Regions from separate parts of the Homo sapiens genome. Here regions 1 and 2 are each linked to region 3. The links are contacts of gene promoters, found by promoter capture Hi-C in human tissues and cell types (Jung and others, 2019). All regions are on one chromosome and are shown on one strand. The core of a region is centred on a gene start or on the middle of the fragment in contact, and the rest is flanking DNA. Distances in the headings are between cores, read along the strand shown.

Region 1 (4,047 bases), core at 1,399-3,898, 850 kb after region 3:
AAAACAAAACACACCACTTTTCCTGACTGCAGCACTGGTGAGGGTTGCATATCACGGGTGACTGTGATGATTTGTGCCTGGCGCTTAATTTTTAAAGTTAGTACTGAGTGATGACAGAGAGAGGTCAATGCCACTCAAAGAATATTTTGTTTGTTTGTTTGTTTGTTTGTTTGAGAGGCAGTCTTACTCTCTCACTCAGGCCGGAGTGCAGTGGTGTGATATCGGCTCACTGCAACCTCTGCCTCCTGGGTTCAAGTGATTCTCCTGCCTCAGCTTCCTGAGTAGCTGGGATTACAGGCGTCTGCCACCACATCCAGCTAATTTTTGTATTTTTAGTAGAGATGGGGTTTCATCATGTTGGCCAGGTTGGTCTCAAACTCCTGACCTGAGGTGATCTGCCTACCTTGGCCTCCCAAAGTGCTGGGATTACAGGCGTGAGCCATTGCACCTGGCCAAGAAGAATTTATTACATACTTTTCCCAAGAGATGGGGCCACACCACACCATACCAGGCCATACCAGGCCATGCCATGCTAGACAGGGCCACAGGAGGAAGTACCAGATCCGCTCAAGAGGCAGAATAAAGGGTAAAGAATGGTCCAGAGCTTTATTGTGTTACTCAGTGGAAGGGCAAGGCAGGACTAGGGAAACAGCTTAGGGTTAACTACTTTGAATAATGCCAGTAGGTTCTGAGTTACAGGAATGGTCTCTAAATGTCTGGCCCTCACCCTACCTGTCCCTAAGGAGAAATACTGGAGAGTTAGAAAAGGAGGTGGTTGAGGGATTGGTTGGAGGGTTTGTAATATGATTTTCACACCCTCACAAAAGCTGGATTGCAGAGGAGATGTAAACAACTTCAGCCTTGGGAGGCCAAGATGAAAGGATGGCTTGAAGCCAGGAGTTCAAGGCTGCAACAAGCTATGATTACACCACTGCACTCCAGCCTGGTTGAAGGAATGAGATCCTGATTCTACAAAACATTTTTGAAAAAAACTTTTTTATTTTTTCTTTTCTTTTCTTTTTTTTTTTTTTTTTTTGAGACAGTCTTGCTCTGTCACCCAGGCTAGAGCGCAGTGATACGATCTCGGCTCACTGTGACCTCCATCTCCTGGGTTCAAGTGATTCTCGTGCCTCAGCGTCCTGAGTAGCTGGGATTACAGGTGCCTGCCACCATGCACGGCTAATTTTTGTATTTTTAGTAGAGATGGGGTTTCACCATGTTGTCCGGGCTGGTCTTGAACTCCTGACCTCAAGTGATCCACCCGCCTCGGCCTCCCAAAGTGCTGGGATTACAGGTGTGAGCCACGGTGCCCGACCAAAAAATTTAAAAATAAAAATTAGCCACCTGTAGTGGTGCACGCTTGTAGTCCCACCCAGCTACTTGGGAGGCTGAGGTGGGAGTATCACTTGGGCCCAGGAGGTGGAGGCTGCAGTGAGCTCTGATCATGCCAGTGCTCTCCAACCTGGGTGACAGAACAAGACCCCACCTCAAAACAAAACAAAACAAAAAACACAACTTCAGCCTTTAGTTTGGCCCTGTGATTAATGATTGCCAAATAGGCATACACAGAATCTAAGAAAATACAGTTTGCTGAGGTGTGCCTGTCTCCAGTCCAGTAATTAGTATGCAAGATTTACCACCGCCCACTCCCACTTTGTTCTAGATGCCAAACCTCTTCTTCCCCCTTAAGGAATAGTCATATTGCTTGAAGTTTTTTTTTTTTAATTTCTCTGCTTGTTGTTAATCCTGTGTTGGTTTAAAATGTGCATTTTAATCTTAAGCGACAAGCTGATTTTCCGTCACTCTGAGATGATGCAGGTACAGGTGGTGACATGGGGAGGGGGGACTGCTCTTTGGTTCCAGGTGGTTGGAGAGAGACCCAGGGCTTTGGATTGTGTTCCTTCCCCTGCCACCTGTCACAGAGCCAGGGGACAGACCAGGAGGACTAGACAGGCCACTGTTTTGGCTTTTCCTTCCATAAAATACCAGCATTTTTTGCCAGATGCAGTGGCTCATGCCTGTAACCCCAGAACTTTGGGAGCCTGAGGCAGGCAAATCACTTGAGCTCAGGAGTTCGAGACCAGCCTGGGCAACATGGCAAAAGCCCGTCTCTACAAAAAATACAAAAAATTAGCCGAGCACGGTGGTGCATGCCTGTAGTCCCAGCTACCTGGGAGACTGAGGTGGGAGAATCATCTGAGCCTAGCAAGTCAAGGCTGCAGTGAGTGGTAATCCTGCTACTGCACTCCAGCCTGGGTGACAGCGTGAGACCCTGTCTCAAAAAAAAAAAAAAAAAAACCCAAAACCCAGCACTTTCAAAGGGATCTTACAAATACAGATCCTTTTCTTCCTACAGATACGCCAAGTACTACAAGGAAAACAATGTTGAGAAACGGACTCTGATAAAAGTCTTCGGGATCCGTTTTGACATCCTGGTTTTTGGCACCGTAAGTCTCGTTTCCCAGCTCCGGGCACCGGCATCCTATGACTGTGTCCTAATTACTGCTGTGGGGCCTCCATGGAGGGAAGGGTTTTGGTCTCAGCCTTCAGCTAGCACTGGGCATTTCGCACATGGGATAAAAGAGGAAGAAGATGTTCTCGGGCTGCTGTCCCTGAATGAGTCATCTGACGAGTACAGGAGTGGGCCTGGAAAGCAATTCTAACATTCGGCTTTAAAAATACTCTGATACTTAACAAGAGAGAGAAAGAAATCTCTCTGTAAAATAGTTTGTAAGTAACAGAATCCAATTCAAATTGGCTTAAGGGGAAAAAAAAAGTTTTGAGTGGGCTTTTTTGGGTTCACGTAACTGAAAAAATCCAGGGGTTATTTTTAAGCTACAAGCATGGTTGGATCCAGGTGTTCAAACAACAACATCATCATCAAGAACTTGCCACCTTCCGTGTCTTATATACGTCCTCCTTGGTCTTGGCAGCCATCTCTCTATGAAGGTATCAGGCAGCACCTTCGATCTGACCAGTTTAGCAACCTCAGTGAAAAGAAAACACCTCTTTGCCAGAAGGTTCAGCAAAGGTCTCAGACAAATGTCATTGGCTCTGATTGGCCCACTATGGATGACATGCCCACTGCTGAACTAATCACTGTGACCAGGGTCATGCCATACTCCCAGTGGTTAGTGTCGAACCAGCCCTAACCTAGCCCAGGGGCCAGCAGAGAGGCCAACACCCCAGCCCCTTCAACACACACACACACACACACACACACACACACACACACACACTACATGGACTGAAAAGAAAATTGGAGTGTTGCCTTCTGAAGATGGAAGGAAAAGATGCCAGCTATGCAAAAATCAACATATCCCACGACATCCTGTCCAAGAGCATGTTATCTATGTAAGACAGTGATAAGCAGGACTAGAAGCAATAAGATATAGCTGAGAGAATGCAAAGACCGCTGGGAATAAAAACCACAAGGCTGGGCCGGGCACGGTGGCTCATGCCTGTAATCCCAGCTCTTTGGGAGGCTGAGGCAGGTGGATCATGAGGTCAGGAGCTCAAGACCAGCCTGGCCAACATGGTGAAACCCTGTCTCTACTAAAAATGCAAAAAATTAGCTGGGCGTGGCGGTGGGTACTTGTAATCCCAGCTACTTGGGAGGCTGAGGCAGGAGTATCTCTTGAACCCAGGAGGCGGAGCTTGCAGTGAGCCGAGATTGCGCCACTGCACTCCAGCCTGGGCAAGAGTGCGAGACTCTGTCTCAAAAAAAAAAAAAAAAAAAAACCCACGAGGCCACCCAGACATTCCTTCCCTCTGCTTCTGAAGTAATGTCAAACCTTTTGGAGGAGAAGCTTGTCTGAAACCCTCACCTTGTATGGAGAAATGATAGCCCTTCAGTGGGTCTCCCCTTAATGTGTGGGCCCCAGTGCTTGCTCATGTAAAACCTTTATGGGTCCAAGCACACCCTGCACGGCTGAAGCAGGATGCCTGAGAGTCAGTTTCAGTCTGCGTAGTCTCTGCCTCAGCCAGCACTTGAACGCATCTATCCAAGTCACAGCATGAGGCTCCGCTCCCTGATAGAACCAACAA
Region 2 (3,981 bases), core at 1,106-3,605, 580 kb after region 3:
CCATTAGGGCCAGAGTATGAGAAGCTCAAGATGAGTAACCACAAGGCATGACAGAAACACCTTTACCTTCATTTCTTACTCTGTCCAGAAGGAAGCTGAAATTGTAATCTTGTGTTCCCTACGACCTGCTACTGAAAGGCAGCTGTCACGCAAAACTATGAAATTAGCTTAAACCTCTTTTTAGAGCACGTGTTCACCAAGATTTTAATTCTTCCTTTAGGGTTACTTTGTCTCTCAGTTACCTTCTTCTTGAGATTGCACATACATCAATGAAGTTCTCTTAAGAATTATCATCTTCAATCCCCAACTCCCTTTCTCTTATGTGAAGACTCAATGAGTTACTGACTTATAACCTCTAACACTATAAATAATCCACTCAAAGTCTTCTACCTAAAACCATTCCTTATTTTCTGATATTACCCATTTCTTAGATGTTTCTCTAGGATAATTATAATTAATGTAGTAAGATCTGTGGCACTTCACAGTTTGCCAAGTGCTTTCTAAATGTACTCACTTAATCCTTACAGGCTGTGGAAAAGGTAATTCCCTCTATTTTATAGGTAAGGAAAAAGGACCGAAGAACTCACTACCATGTCGTATCAACAAAGCAAGTTGGTGGCAAACCGGACCTCCGAAATAGGTCTTCCAACTCCACACGGCATGCTCGTCCCATTCTATTATGCTCTTTTCTAAGAAGGGAATGTCTACAGTTCTGTCCCAAACCACATTTGCTTCAAGAGTAAACCATCTTCAAACCATTTCTCTAAATTGCAATCAGGTCCCCCACTCCTACGATCATGCCATTTCTTGCTTCCTCACTCTCCAGCTATGACTTCCTTCTCACTACCCGATTTCCACTCTTCATGGATACTGCCATCATTCCTTCAACCCGTCCTGCAAATATCCCACCTCTACATGCTAAAGGGAGACCCCTCATGTTCCTTCCCCCAAACCCTGGCACTCCCTTCTCCGGATATGTAGGTTGTCACCCCATAAACTACACAGTAGCTTCTCGCTTCTCGGCCCTTAACGAGCTACTTACTAACTTTAAAAGCCCCACAGAAATGAACTTAACTTGCAGGTCCTCCACCTCCACACTTGGCCCTGGGCGCCATTCCTCTGAAAATAATAGTACCAACCCTTACAAAGACTCTGCCCATGCCCCACTGTCACCAACGAATTCCTTTTCCAGAAGGAAAAGGAAACAGGTTCTTCAGGCTCCTCTTCCAACCTCTTCACCAGTGACTCCCCTCCAAGGTTCGTGGACTCTACCCCCGCAGTTTTCCTCCCCTCACTCCCGGGCCTCTGCCCACCTCACCAACTCTCCCTGCGCTCCCTGTCCCAGAGCCAAGCGGCGGCCGCTCCACTCTCCCAACTTAGAAGTTCTGCCTCTATCACCTGTTCTCACTAGAGCTTCCTCTCAGCCCAGCGGCCCACCTTTGCCCTGGCCTGCCTCTCTCCACCCCTTCGAGTCCTCCTGCCCAGGAAACACCCCCACGAGTCAGTTCCGGGGTGCCTGTCGGATTCAACTTCCCATCCGTGGGATTCCCACCCCCGGGGTCATGCTCCCCTTCTCCATCACCTGCTCCGCCCATAGCCAGATGACATCCGCCGCTGCCTCCTCCTCCATTCCCCTTCTCGGACGCCAGGTCCCCGGCCACTCACCGCCCTCCGTGCGCGCCAGCCGCCCCCTCCGGTGGGGAAGAGGGGGGCGTGCACCCCAACCCGCGCCCCCCCCCCACGACACGCACCTGTTCTTCCTCCTCTTCCCCTCGGCGGGCCGCGCCGGCGCCCCGACCCCCACCCTTGCCGCCTCCCGGCCTCCCGGAGCCCCGCACTCACCACGAGTAGGTCTGCTCCGCCATGGCGCTGCCTCTCGTGGGCTCCGCTGCAGGCTGTGGCCGGGCCCGGCGGCGGCGGGCTCGCTCGGGCCGTAGCTGAAGGCGCGGCCGGGGTCCGGTGCTTGCTTGCTTGCTCGCTCGCTGGCTCGCTGGCTGCACGGCGGGCCGGGAAGGCGGCTGGCGGGGAGAGGCCGGGCTCCGAAGCGGCCCCGCTCCCTGGGCCCCGGGGCGGGGCGGGCTCCGCTCTCGGCCTCCCTCACCCGCGGCGGCGGCGGCGGCTCCGCTGCAGCTCCAAACCCAACATGGCGGCGGCGGCGGCGCGGAGAACAAGGGGGCCCTGGGGCGGGCGAACGGCAAGACGGGCCCGCGCTCACTGCGCGCGGGGCCGCGGGAGCGCCGCGCTCGGGCGGCGGCGGCGGCGGCCGGGGGACATGGCCGGCGGGCGGAGGCGGCGGCGACTGAGGGGGGCGCTAGGCGATGAGGCGAGGCCACTCGATCACACCCGCCGAGGGGAGGAGGGGCGGGGGCGGGGGCGAGCCTTGGCCCCGCGCGGGTCACGTGCCCAAAACACGCTCACGTGATGCGCGCCCCGCCCCTCGAGCCGGGCCCATGCGCAGAGACGTCGGCTCCTGGGTTCTAGGCGGCTGCTGCTCGCACAGCCAGAGCAGTTGGGCCGCCTCCCGCTGCCTGGTGCCGCCCCCCTCCCCACGCGGAGATGTCGCCTCGGGTACCCTCTTCCGCCCCTCTCCGAGGGGCTGCTGCACCAGCCAATCGGGAACCCCGATGCGCGTCTGTTGGCTGCCACTCAGCTGTCAACCGTCAGTCAACAGTCTGCTGGCCACGGGCCCCCCAACTGTCAGTCAACCTGTCAGTCAACAGGCAGAGGGCTGCATTCCTTCGTTCGTATGTTCCTTGGTTCATTCATTCAGGTAGCAAATATTCCAGGCAGCCAACCTTTATTGCGCCCAGGCCCGGCACCAAGTCGAATACCCCACGCTTGCCTTCACAGAATCAATCAACAGATATTTGTTGGGTGCCAACCATGTGTCAACTCACTCTGCCTTCCTAGAGCTTACATTCTAAAGGAAGAGACATAGTCCAAGCCCACAAATAAGATAATTTCAGATGCTGCTAAGTTTTACAAAAACACATTTTGTAACACAAGGTGAGGGGACAGAGAGTGAGCAGAGGTGTGGGTTACTTTAGATAGGGTGGTCAAGGAAGGCCTCGCTTAGGAGGTGACATTTGAGCTGATATTGAATGATGACAGAGAGCTGGCCTTGCAAAGATCCACAGGAAAAGAGTTCCTGGCAGAGGGAACAGCAAGGGCAGAAGGCTCAGGAAACCGTCCATTTGGAGGTCTGGAAACCGGCACAGAAATAAACACGGTAGAGCTAGACCAGAGACCAACAAAGTGAATCTGGAGCTTAGATGGAGAGAGAAGAGAGAGATTAATTGAGGCCCCAGGTACTGCGGAATGCTTCCCCAGGAGTGGATGAGGCCGTCTGAAAGGGTGAGAGGCTTATCAAAGAAAAGTCATTCTTTTGGCCGGGCGCGGTGGCTCACGCCTGTAGTCCCAGCACTTTGGGAGGCCGAGGTGGGTGGATCATGAGGTCAGGAGATCGGGACCATCCTGGTTAACACGGTGAAACCCTGTCTCTACTAAAAATACAAAAAATTAGCCGGGCGTGGTGGTGGACGCCTGTAATCCCAGCTACTCAGGAGGTTGAGGCAGGAGAATGGCGTGAACCCCGGAGGCAGAGCTTGCAGTGAGCCGAGATTGCGCCACTGCACTCCAGCCTGGGCAACAGCGAGACTCTGTCTCAAAAAAAAAAAAAGAAAAAGAAAAAGAAAAAGAAAAAAAAAAAAGAAAAGGCATTCTAGAAAGAAAGAATGGCATGAAGTAAGGCCCAATTCCTGGTGAGCTTGAATCCGAGAGTGGGATGGGTGATTTGTGCTGGAGTGTTGAGAAAATATACTGAGAAGGTGCACTGAGGCCAGACTTTGAGGGCCCAGCTAAGCCTCCTTGCCAGTTACTGTGTTCATGAATAAAAATGATTAACCAGTGCAGCTTCAGAATTTAGAAACATGCCTGGGCAACAGATACACTAACCCTCCTGGACACCCCTCCACCCCCACC
Region 3 (3,857 bases), core at 29-2,528:
TATCCAGTGAATATTTATTGAGCACTTACTATGTGCCAGGCTCTGTCCTAGGAGCTAGAGATACAGCAGTGAACAGATATAATAATAATAATAATAATAATAATAATAATAATAATAATAATAATCTCTAACCTCATGGAGCTTACAACCTAGTGGGAGAGAAAAACAATAAATAATAAATGTGATAAGGCCGGGCACGGTGGCTCATGCCTGTAATCCCAGCACTTTGGGAGGCCGAGGCAGGCGGATCACAAGGTCATGAGATCGAGACCATCCTGGCTAACACGATGAAACCCCGTCTTTATTAAAAATACAAAAAAATTAGCGGGGCGTGGTGGCAGGCGCCTTTAGTCCCAGCTACTGGGGAGGCTGAGGCGGGAGAATGGCGTGAACCCAGCAGGTGGAGCTTGCAGTGAGCCGAGATCGCACCACTGTACTCCAGCCTTGGCGACAAAGCAAGACTCTGTCTCAATAATAATAAGAATAATAATAAATGTGATAAGTAAGGAAACTGGATACTGCATTAGAAAGGGGAAGAATAGAGCAGGATGAGGAGAATCTAAAAGGGAGGTCACCCAGCCTGGCCAACATGGTGAAAACCTGTCTCTACCAAAAAAAACACACAAAAAATTAGCTGGGCATGGTGGTGTGTGCCAGCTACTTGAGAGCTACAAGTCCCAGCTACTTGAGAGGCTGAGGCAAGAGAATTATTTGAACCCAGGAGATGGAGGTTGTAGTGATCTGAGATCACGCCACCGCACTCCAGCCTGGGCGACAGAGTGAGCCCCGTCTCAAAAATAAAATAAAGTAAAATAAAAATAAAAATTAAAATAAAATAAAATAAATGGGAGATTGGCCTAACTACTTAGTTGAGTAAGGTGGGAGGATCACTTGAGCCCACGAGTTGGAAGCTGTGGTGAGCTATGATCATGCCACTGAACTCCAGCCTGGGTGATAGAGCAAGACCCTGTCTGGAAAAAAGAAAATAAAGGCAAGCTTTCTTAGCTCAGGCAATCTGAGTTCAGACTTGCAGGTTGAAAAAGTGCCAGCCTTGAGGGAACCCCAATAGAGGAGCCCTTAAGCCCCACTGGGAACCTCGAATTGAGACTGCGGGGCTGGCCATCCCTGTTTGCTGTGGCCTGTGGCCCCCATTCCAGAGGAGTGAGATCTTAGCTCACTTGGGAGAGAAAGGCGGGTGGAGCCGGGGAGACTTGCCTACCTGTGAGCAGCACAGCTAGCACAAGGAGTTTCATCTTGCAGTCAAGGTGAGAAAAGAACTGAGATGACCAGTCTCAGGTATAGTCTTATAGTCAGTCTCCACACAACCCTGCCCAGATAAGGCTGGAGTGTTTGCTTTGCTCTTGGCTGAGTTTGGGGCTGGCCTTGAATCTGTCTGTTGCAGGAATGACCCTGACGATTTGCCAGCATGGGATCACTGGAAAATATGTTATGCATTTGTCCTTAGCAACTGTTAACCAAAGGGATGGTTTCTGGAGTTTTCAGATCTTACAATCTTGACCCTCATACCCACCACTTTGTACTCAGCCCAGCTTCACGGGCTGGTTGGGGAAAGCAAAGCCGTCAGTTCAGTCGGACGCTGGGATAAGGGAGACAAGAAGGAAGTGCAGCCTGGGCAACATAGAGAGACCTCATCTCTAAAAAAAAAAATGTTAACCAGGTGTGGTGGTGGATTGCACCTGTGATCCCAGCAACTCAGGAGGCTGAGATGGGAGGATCTCTTGAGCCAGGGAGGTCAAGGCTGCAATGAACAGTGATTGAGCCTCTGCAGCAGAGTGAGACCCTATTTCAAAAAAAAAAAAAAAAAAAGAAAGAAAGAAAAAAGATCGCTGCCTGCAGCCTCAATGTCTTATCAAGTGCCTGAATCTGTGCACTGGGTCTGGTTGAATAGTCCCATCAGTCGTGCACCTTGCAGATAAAGAGACAGGTTCAGAGAGTTGCGGTAACTTGCCCAAGGTCACACAGTTGGCAAATGACAAAATAGGGCTCCAGTTTAGATCTGTCTGATTCCAAGGCAGAGGTTTTATTTTTTTCCACCACTCCGCTCTGCAGTGTGGGTTTGTGAGAAAAACCTGGGCTTTGGATTCCAAAGGCCTGAGTCTGAATTATAGAATACTAAAGGGCATTAGAACTGTCATATCAGAGGCCAGGCACGGTGGCTCATGCCTGTAATCCCAGCACTTTGGGAGGCTGAGGCTGGCAGATCACCTGAGGTGGAGAGTTCGAGACCAGCCTGACCAACATGGAATAACCCTGTCTCTACTAAAAACACAAAATTAGCCAGGCATGGTGGCTTATGCCTGTAATCCCAGCTACTCCGGAGGCCGAGGCAGGAGAATGGCTTGAACCCTGGAGGCGGAGGTTGCGGTGAGCTGAGATCACGCCATTGCACTCCAGCCTAGGGAACAAGAGCAAAACTCCATCTCAAAAAAAAACCTGTCACATCACATATCTATTTATTTATATATATTTTTTGAGACGGAGTCTTGCTCTGTTGCCTAGGCTGGAGTGCAATGGCGCGATCTTGGCTCACTGCAAGCTCTGCCTCCCAGGTTCATGCCATTCTCCTGCCTCAGCCTCCCAAGTAGCTGGGACTACAGGCACCCACCACCACGCCCGGTTAATTTTTTTTTTTGTATTTTTAGTAGAGATGGGGTTTCACCGCATTAGCCAGGATGGTCTCGATCTCCTGACCTCGTGATCCACCTGCCTCGGCCTCCCAAAATGCTGGGATTACAGGCGTGAGCCACCGCGCCCGGCCAAATATCTACATAACATTGTTTAGCTGAAATTCACATAACATTAACCACGTTTAAGTAAACAATTCGGGGGCATTTAGTACCTTCACAGTGTTGTGCAACCATCACCTCTATGGGGTTCCAGAACATTTTTATCACTCCAGAAGGAAACCCTGTACCCATTAGCAGTCACACTCCCTCAGCCCCTGGTAACTGCTAATCTGCTTCTCTCTCTCTCTCTCTTTTTTTTTTGAGACAGAGTTTCGCTCTTGTCGCCCAGGCTGGAGTGCAATGGCACGATCTCGGCTTACTGCAACCTCCGCCTCCCAGGTTCAAGCGATTCTCCTGCCTCAGCCTCTCGTGTAGCTGGGAATTACAGGCGCCTGCCAGCATGCCTGGATAATTTTTGTATTTTTAGTAGAGACAAGGTTTCACCATGTTGGTCAGGCTGGTCTCAAACTCTTGACCTCAGGTGATCCACTCCTCAGCCTCCCAAAATGCTGGGATTATAGGCATGAGCCACTGTGCCTGGCCTCTGATCTGCTTCTCTCTATATAGATTTATAATTGGTTAACTTGGTGCTCTTCTGTTCCTATGTCACCTCTACAACAACCCTGTGGGATAAGGAGGGCCTGGTTATTTAATTTATTTATCTGTTTTTTTTTTTTGAGACAAAGTGTCGCTCTGTTTCCCAGACTGATGTGCAGTGACACGATCATAGTTCACTGCAGCCTCAACCTCCTGGGCTCAAGCAATCCTCCCACCTTAGCCTCCCGATTAGTGGGGACTACAGACATGTGTCACCACACCTGGCTAATTTAAAAAAATTTTTTGGGCCAGGCACGGTGGCTCATACCTGTAATCCCAGCACTTGGGGAGACCGAGGCAGGCGGATCACGAGGTCAGGTGATGGAGACCATCCTGGCTAACACAGTGAAACCTTGTCTCTACTAAAGATACAAAAAATAAGCTGGGCATGGTGGCGGGTGCCTGTAATCTCAGCAACTTGGGAGGCTGAGGCAGAAGAATGGCGTGAACCCAGGAGGCAGAGTTTGCAGTGAGCCGAGATCACGCCACTGTACTCCGGCCTGGGCGACACAG

The links. The method cuts DNA at HindIII sites, captures the fragments that hold promoters and counts their contacts. A contact is called where the count stands out against the background at its distance.
Region 1: a contact is called between a fragment that was not itself captured here and the fragment with the promoter of PLA2G1B in region 3, in 1 of the 25 tissues and cell types used here (IMR-90 fibroblasts).
Region 2: a contact is called between the fragment with the promoter of SPPL3 here and the fragment with the promoter of PLA2G1B in region 3, in 2 of the 25 tissues and cell types used here (mesendoderm cells and small bowel).

The regions. Positions count from the first base shown.
Region 1 is chr12:121,173,032-121,177,078 of GRCh38, forward strand. It overlaps P2RX7 (purinergic receptor P2X 7), which reads left to right. Exons shown (of 13, transcript NM_002562.6): 9 at 2,357-2,447. The region is part of intron 2 of LOC105370032 (a long non-coding RNA gene); the gene reads right to left. Among named protein-coding and RNA genes, the nearest start is that of P2RX4, 35 kb to the right of the region's middle. The HindIII fragment of the contact is 8,089 bases long and covers 1-4,047 here.
Region 2 is chr12:120,902,003-120,905,983 of GRCh38, forward strand. SPPL3 (signal peptide peptidase like 3) reads right to left here and starts at 2,356. Exons shown (of 11, transcript NM_139015.5): 1 at 1,843-2,356. The coding sequence starts at 1,865. XLOC_009911 (a long non-coding RNA gene) reads left to right here and starts at 2,693. Exons shown (of 2, transcript NR_131215.1): 1 at 2,693-2,770. RefSeq lists silencers at 1,706-1,755, 1,896-2,115, 2,196-2,555. The HindIII fragment of the contact is 15,749 bases long and covers 1-3,981 here.
Region 3 is chr12:120,326,501-120,330,357 of GRCh38, forward strand. PLA2G1B (phospholipase A2 group IB) reads right to left here and starts at 1,279. Exons shown (of 4, transcript NM_000928.3): 1 at 1,220-1,279. The coding sequence starts at 1,253. The HindIII fragment of the contact is 11,861 bases long and covers 1-3,857 here.